Linked DNA regions of Homo sapiens: region 1 is linked to region 2. The links are contacts of gene promoters, found by promoter capture Hi-C in human tissues and cell types (Jung and others, 2019). All regions are on one chromosome and are shown on one strand. Each heading gives the region's core, a stretch centred on a gene start or on the middle of the fragment in contact. The rest is flanking DNA. Distances are from core to core; before and after follow the strand shown.

Evidence for each region. Contacts are between HindIII fragments. The study calls those that stand out against the background at their distance.
Region 1: a fragment that was not itself captured here is called in contact with the fragment with the promoter of GPR89B in region 2 in 1 of the 25 tissues and cell types used here (hippocampus).

What each region holds. Positions count from the first base shown.
Region 1 is chr1:147,688,172-147,691,672 of GRCh38, forward strand. It overlaps the pseudogene RN7SL261P. Among named protein-coding and RNA genes, the nearest start is that of ACP6, 19 kb to the left of the region's middle. The HindIII fragment of the contact is 4,430 bases long and covers 1-3,501 here.
Region 2 is chr1:147,927,170-147,930,566 of GRCh38, forward strand. GPR89B (G protein-coupled receptor 89B) reads left to right here and starts at 1,251. Exons shown (of 14, transcript NM_016334.5): 1 at 1,251-1,409. The coding sequence starts at 1,368. It overlaps LOC105371229 (a long non-coding RNA gene), which reads right to left and starts at 1,149. Exons shown (of 3, transcript XR_922074.4): 1 at 1-1,149. The HindIII fragment of the contact is 5,422 bases long and covers 1-2,759 here.

The DNA.
Region 1 (3,501 bases), core at 503-3,002, 240 kb before region 2:
AGCCATACATCCAATAAGAGGTACAAAATATAAAATATAAAAGCAACAAATACAAAGCAAAAAAAATACAAAAAAATACAAAATATAAAAGCAACTCAAACAACTCAATAGTAAGAAAACAAATAACCCAAATAAAAAATGGGCAAGGGACCTGAATAGACATTTTTCAAAGGAAGACATATAGATATCCAATAGTATATGAAAAAATGCTCAATAACACCAATCAGGCTGGGCGTTGTGGCTCACGCCTGTAATCCCAACACTTTGGGAGTCTGAGGTGGGTGGATCACAAGTCAGGAGCTTGAGAACAGTGTGGCCAATACGGTGAAACCCCGTCTCTACTAAAAATACAAAAATTAGCTGGGTGTGGTGGCGGGCACCTGTAGTCCCAGCTACTCGGGAGACTGAAGCAGAAGAATCCCTTGAACCCAGGAGGCAGAGGTTGCAGTGAGCCAAGATCACACCACTGCACTCCAGCCTGGGTGACAGACCGAGACCTCGTCTCAAAACAAAAAACAAAAAACAAAAAACAAAAACCACTAATCACCAGGGAAACGCAAATCAAAACCACAATGAGATATATCACACTTGTTAGAATGACTACTATCAAAAAAGATGAAAGATAAGTGTTGAGGATGTGAAGAAAAGGAAACCCTTGTACACTGTTGGTGGGCATGTAAATTGGTACAGCCATTACAGAAAGCAGTATGAAGCTTCCTCAAAAAATTAAAAATTGGACTACAGTACCATATGATCCTGCAATCCCACTCCTGGGTCTATATCCAAAAGAAATAAAATCTGTATGTTGAAGGGACACCTACAATCCCATGTTCACTGTAGCATTATTCACAATGTTCAAGATATGGAACAACCTAAGTGTCCATCAAAGGATGACTGGATAAAGAAAATGTGTTATATGTACATAATGGAATACTAATCAGCCTTAGAAAATAAAAAAAATCCTCTCATTTATGACAACATGGATGAACTTGGAGGACATTTTGTTAAGTGAAATAAGTCAGGCACAGAATGACAAATACCACATAATCTCGTATGTGGAGTATTTAAAAACTCAAACTTAGCCAGTGGTTAAGTGGCACATGCCTGTAGTCCATCTACTCCAGGGGCTGAGGCAGGATGATTGCTTAAGTCCAGGAGTTCTGGGCTGTAGTGTGCTATGCCAATAGGGTGTCTGCACTAAGTTCAGCATCAGTAGTAGGTGACCTTTTTGAGAGCAGGGGACCGCTAGGTTTTCTAAGGAGGGGTGAACCAGCCCAGGTCAGAAATGGAGCAGGTCAAATATCCCATGCTTATCAGTGGTAGGATAAGCACTCCAGCCTGGGCAACATAGTGAGACCCCATCTCTTTAAAAAAAAAAAACAAAAACCTCAAACTTAACAGAAATAAGGAATAAAGTGGTACTTACCAGAGGCTGAGGGATGGGAGGATTGGGGAGATATTAGTCAAATGACACAAAATTTCAGGTAGACAGGAGGAGTAAGTTCAGAAGATATATTGTTCACTTTGTTGACTATAGTTAATGACAATATATTATATATTTGAAAATTGCTGAGAGTAGATTTTAAATATTCTCACCATAAAAAAAGTATCTTAGATTATAGATATTTAGATGATGGTTAATTAGCTTGATTTATCCATTTCACAATGTATACACATATTAAAACATCATGTTGTTGTATACCACAAATACATACAATTTTTACTGGTCAATTAAAGTAAAGAAATAAATAATTACAAGTATTGAATACTTAGTTTTACTGATCTCAAGTACTGAAAATATGTCAATACAAAACATACTGAAATACCAAAATACACTGAAATTATACTCCAGTATTTAAATGACCCTTCAGTTTGGTACTGGAGGCCCTTTAAATCAGCTTCCCGTCTACATTTTCCACTATTTCCATCCCAGAGATAGATGTTTTTCTCTATGTGTCCTTTTCCAAATAGACCTTGGATCTGGCTACCTCGATTCCTTTTATCAAGACCCATTTTCCTATTTCTATCTGTAATGTTTATATGAAACAAACACAACTGGTAGAATGGAATCTTAAAGCAAATTCATTTTTGACTGTCTCTTTACATCTCCACTGAGGGGCTGTTCTCCTTGACCCTAGGAAAAAACAGAGGTTGCCCCTCAGAGATATTAAAGGTACTCAGCCATTTTTAAAGTCACAAAACATGGTGGAAATCAGGAATTAAAATGGCAGTCATAGGTAAGAATGATAATTCTTAACCTTGAAGTTTCTCCTCCTCTCCTCCAGTTTGTACTGGCCACAGGCTAGAAGTCTGAAATTTGAAAGTGGGTTAGGGGATAATCTCATGATTCTTCTCCTTTTACCATCTTTCTAAAGCTGATTCTGACCACTCTAGGATCTGGAGCTTAGGAAGGGAGATCAATGAAGGAGTACTAGCAAAGTTCTTAGTTGACTGGTGCTGTGCAGGTGATCAAGTTGGTGCTCTCTGGCCTTTGCAGATGTTTAAAGCTGATTGCTCTTTTAAGGGATTTTCATGGGTTGCTCTGAGACTCTTCCTTTTCCCCACCTTTCTGCAGCCTTAGGTATCCAGCAGCAGTTCATCTCCAGCTTTCCTGTATTGAGGCTCCTCACTCCTGCAGGAGGTCATTATAAACACGGGCTAAGCAACACCACACAACTCCCTTTCCCTCATGGGCCACATCTGGTCCATAGGAAACATGTTTGTCCAGGAAAACTCTGGGAATGCAGCCCCTTCCCCATAACTCAGCACTCTGGATTTAGATTTCTCAAGCATGAACCAGTCAGAAGTCCCCTGTGTCCCTCAAACTTTAGAAGACACATATTAAGCTCCACGGATGGTTCCATAAAAGTTCTGTCCTTTGGTTTGATTTAAGGAGCAGATATCCCTCCTTCCCACCCCCACCCTCTTTCTCCCCCTTTCTCCTCTCCTCTCCTGTCCTTTCCTCTCTTCTTCTCTCCCCTTTTTCCCCCATAATGAGAAGGATAGAATTCTTGGAACCCAATACTTCCCTCCAAAGAAATCCTTTTCAAAAGTCTTCCTGATCTCCAATTCAGCATCCCTTTACGCCATCAGTGTGGGTAATCATTTAAGAGTTACCAACCCAGGGCTAGGCACGGTGGCTCACGCCTGTAATCCCAGCACTTTGGGGGGTCGAGGCTGGCAGATCATGGGGTCAAGAGATCGAGACCATCCTGGCCAACATGGTGAAACCCCGTCTCTACTGAAAATACAAAAATTAGCCAGGTGTGGTGGCACGCGCCTGTAGTCTCAGCTACTTGGAAGCTGAGGCAGGAGAATCGCTTGAACCCAGGAGAAGGAGGTTGCATGGAGCTGAGACCACGCCACTACACTCCAGTCTGATGACAGAGAGAGACTCCATCTCAAAGAAAAAAATAATAAAAAAAGAGTTACCAACCCTTCCACCCCTTTTTACCACCTACTTTGAAAGTGTTTGCATTTTGGTCCAACACATAGCTCTAG
Region 2 (3,397 bases), core at 1-2,500:
GGCTGGAGCCAGTTTGCAGGACTATGAGACTATATAGACTACAAAGCCTAGCTAGGCCCCAGGTCGGCGGCAGAGTAAGCCCCACAGCAATGCGTTAAGCCTTCATGAAATGAGTGTTGAATGAATGAGGTAGTGATTCAGTGTATATTTGATCCACTGCAACAGGTGGGAAGGGGGCAGAGGCAGCTACTTCCTAAAATAACCCTTCTTCAGACTCTTAAAGAACTGATCCTTGTTTTGAATTAAAATCTATCTTCAATTAACTTCCAGTCCTTTGCCCTACAGATAATTCGTAGTGCCACATCAGTTCTACCCATTCTTTCACATGAAGACAGATGTCATGTTCTGAGTCATCTTTCTTCGCCTCCTTCCAGCAGCCCTTATCTGGTGGCTCACATTTGAGCGAGCTCCAATATGTCTCTGTAGAATCTCTCTCTTCTTTTTTCTTTTCTTTTTTTTTTTTTGAGATGGAGTTTCGCTCTTGTTGCCCAGGCTGGAGTGCAATGGCGCGATCTCGGCTCACCGCAACCTCCCCTCCCGGGTTCAAGCGATTCTCCTGCCTCAGCCTCCCTAGTAGTTGGGATTACAGGCATGCACCACCACGCCCGGCTAATTTTGTATTTTTAGTAGAGACAGGGTTTCTCCATGCTTGTCAGGCTGGTTTTGAACTTGCGACCTCAGGTGATCCGCCCGCCTTGGTCTCCCCAGGTGCTGGGATTACAGGTGTGAGCCGGCCCGGCCTGTAAAATCTCTTCAAAGTGTGGTACATGGAGTGCAGTACTCCACCTGTGGCCTGACTGATATGCAGTACAATATTATCACTAAATTGCTACAGACAGTGTGCTTTTCATTGTTGTCACAGAAATGTATTTGGTTAGTTATATTTGTTCATATCTCATCTGACTTTCCAGTCTTCCCTCACTTTGTACAGTCATATTTGCCGAGTCAAGTAAAAGTTATAACATTTAGGACACAATGCCCGACTTACTATAATTACCATTATTATCTTAGGATCATTACAAAACAGAATTACCACTTAGCTCTCAGGCCCTACCTCCTTCAGCCTCAGAAACGTTAACGCTACCTTGCATTGCTGCTTTTAGCACCGCCCCTAATAAGCCCCGCCCCTGGGGCTTCCGCGGCGGAAGCCTAGCGTCCGCCCCACCCACCCCGAGCCCGAGGCGGGGCTGTGGATGTAGCCGCTGATTGGCTGACTGGGGCGCAGCTTGACGGCGTCGGGCTGGAGAGCCGCAGTCCCGGCTGCAGCACCTGGGAGAAGGCAGACCGTGTGAGGGGGCCTGTGGCCCCAGCGTGCTGTGGCCTCCGGGAGTGGGAAGTGGAGGCAGGAGCCTTCCTTACACTTCGCCATGAGTTTCCTGATCGACTCCAGCATCATGATTACCTCCCAGGTGAGTCACCGCCTCCCGCCCCGACACCCGTCCGCCTCCCTTCACCGAATCGCCCTCTCCGGTCCTCCGCGGTGCGGGCTGGTCCGGGGTCTCGCTCCTCTCTTACGCGGCCTGCGCCAGTCACTCTGGCACACAGAGAGGGTGTGCGATTTGCTGCGGCCGGTTCCCTCAGCCCCGGCTGTCAGGAGGCTGGCCTGCGGCCGTCCGCGTCCCCACCCGGCATCCATCCCCGGAATTTCGGTCCACTTTTGGAAGCGGTCCGCCGACCTCCAGGCTAAGAGCCGGCGCCGCCAGCTAAGGCGGCGGTTCTAGGAGCTCCTCGAAGCTTCCGGGCTGCGCCAACTGATCCTGGACTGGGGAAGCCTGTGTGGTTCTGGGCGCGCGGTGTGCGACGCGCCAATACTGGATACTGAGGACACGTCAGTGCAGGCTTTGCTGTTAGATGTCAAATCCTGAATCCGGGTGTGGAGAAATTTGCTGCTTCAAAGTATCAGTATAAGGTAATACCTATGCTTGAAAGTATAAGGTTTCGTTTTTGCACTGACACCTCGTCCTTTATCCTCTGCTTAGTTACCCACCTTTTCCGGATGTTTTTCTGACCCTCATTTCTTCTCCATTGGCCACCTTCATTTGTTTGTACAGTCAACAAACATTTATCGACCATTATATAAAGCTCTGAGCGTAAAAACATGTAAGACACTGTCTCTGCTCAATAGAAGTTTCGTCTAGTTAGCCTCTTGCTTTTACCATGTAATCTATTGTTAATTATTGTTTCTTCCTAGCATTCATCATAGCACTGGCATCATTTATGTCTGTGTTTCTGATTTTGTTTTTTGAGATCCTGCCTTGTTCATAGCTGTATCCCCACTTCCAAATGCAGGCATTCAATAAATAATTGTTGGCCAATATTTGTGAAGCTCAGACTGCCTGTTGACCTTCTTCCCCTCATCTTTCCAATAAAGATTTTGTGTGTGTGTGTTTGTTTTTGCTTGTTCTTTCTCTCAAACGGCAAATAACAGAAACAGTTACCTTTGGGGGCTTAAAGTGAACTAAATTTGTGTTCTTTGATTCAGTTTTTGTATTGCTTCATCCTAATACTCGTCTCCGTAGAGCGGAGCATTGTCCTTTTCTCTTCAAAAACTTGTTTACAATATTTAAGAAAATAAGAAAGAAGGAAAAGCCATCCATAATCCTACCGCTCTAATGCAATAGTTTTTCATTTTTAAAATTTACCACCTTTTCTATAGTTTTCATAAGTATTGTTTTTATTGGCTGCATAGTATTCAAATGTATTAATGTAAAAAAACCTAGACATGTAACTCTTCTGCTTAAAACCTTTCTAAGACTACCCAGTGCCCTTGGTGACAACTCAGGATTATTTTTAGCCTTAGTACCAATTTAAGAAAAATAACAATATTTAATTAGCTTTTCTTTTCACTTAGAATAAAGATAAGAATGTCAGTAGAAAATTGGCTTTGCATTGCAGCCTCTACGATTTTTAGCATGGATATAATTGATACGTTGAACCAAGGAAGTGGCTTTCTAATTTTGTATGCCTTATAATCATAGACTTTCACTTCACACATGTATCCATATGCAGTAATTAATTGTTAAACCTGGTTTTTACAAATGTGGAAGAAAGACCCAAAGATTCCTTTGCATGGAATGTTCTCTGTTCAGATATTTATGTGGCTACTTTATCATCCTTTCGGTATTAATAAAAATGTCGCTTTAGGAAGGTTTTACCTGACACCCTGCCCACAACCAAAGTAGCTTTCCATTTCGGCTGCCTTCTTCCTCATTTCCATGTTTTATTATCTTCTTGGCATTTATTACTATGGTTCATTTGTATATTCATGTGTTTGTTATCTGTCCATGAAGTCCAAGATACTGTCTGTCTTGTTCTCTCCTGTATTCACCAGCATCTAGATCAGTTGCAGGCACATAGTAGAGTTGTAGTGAATATTTGTTTAATAAAAAGCACCTCT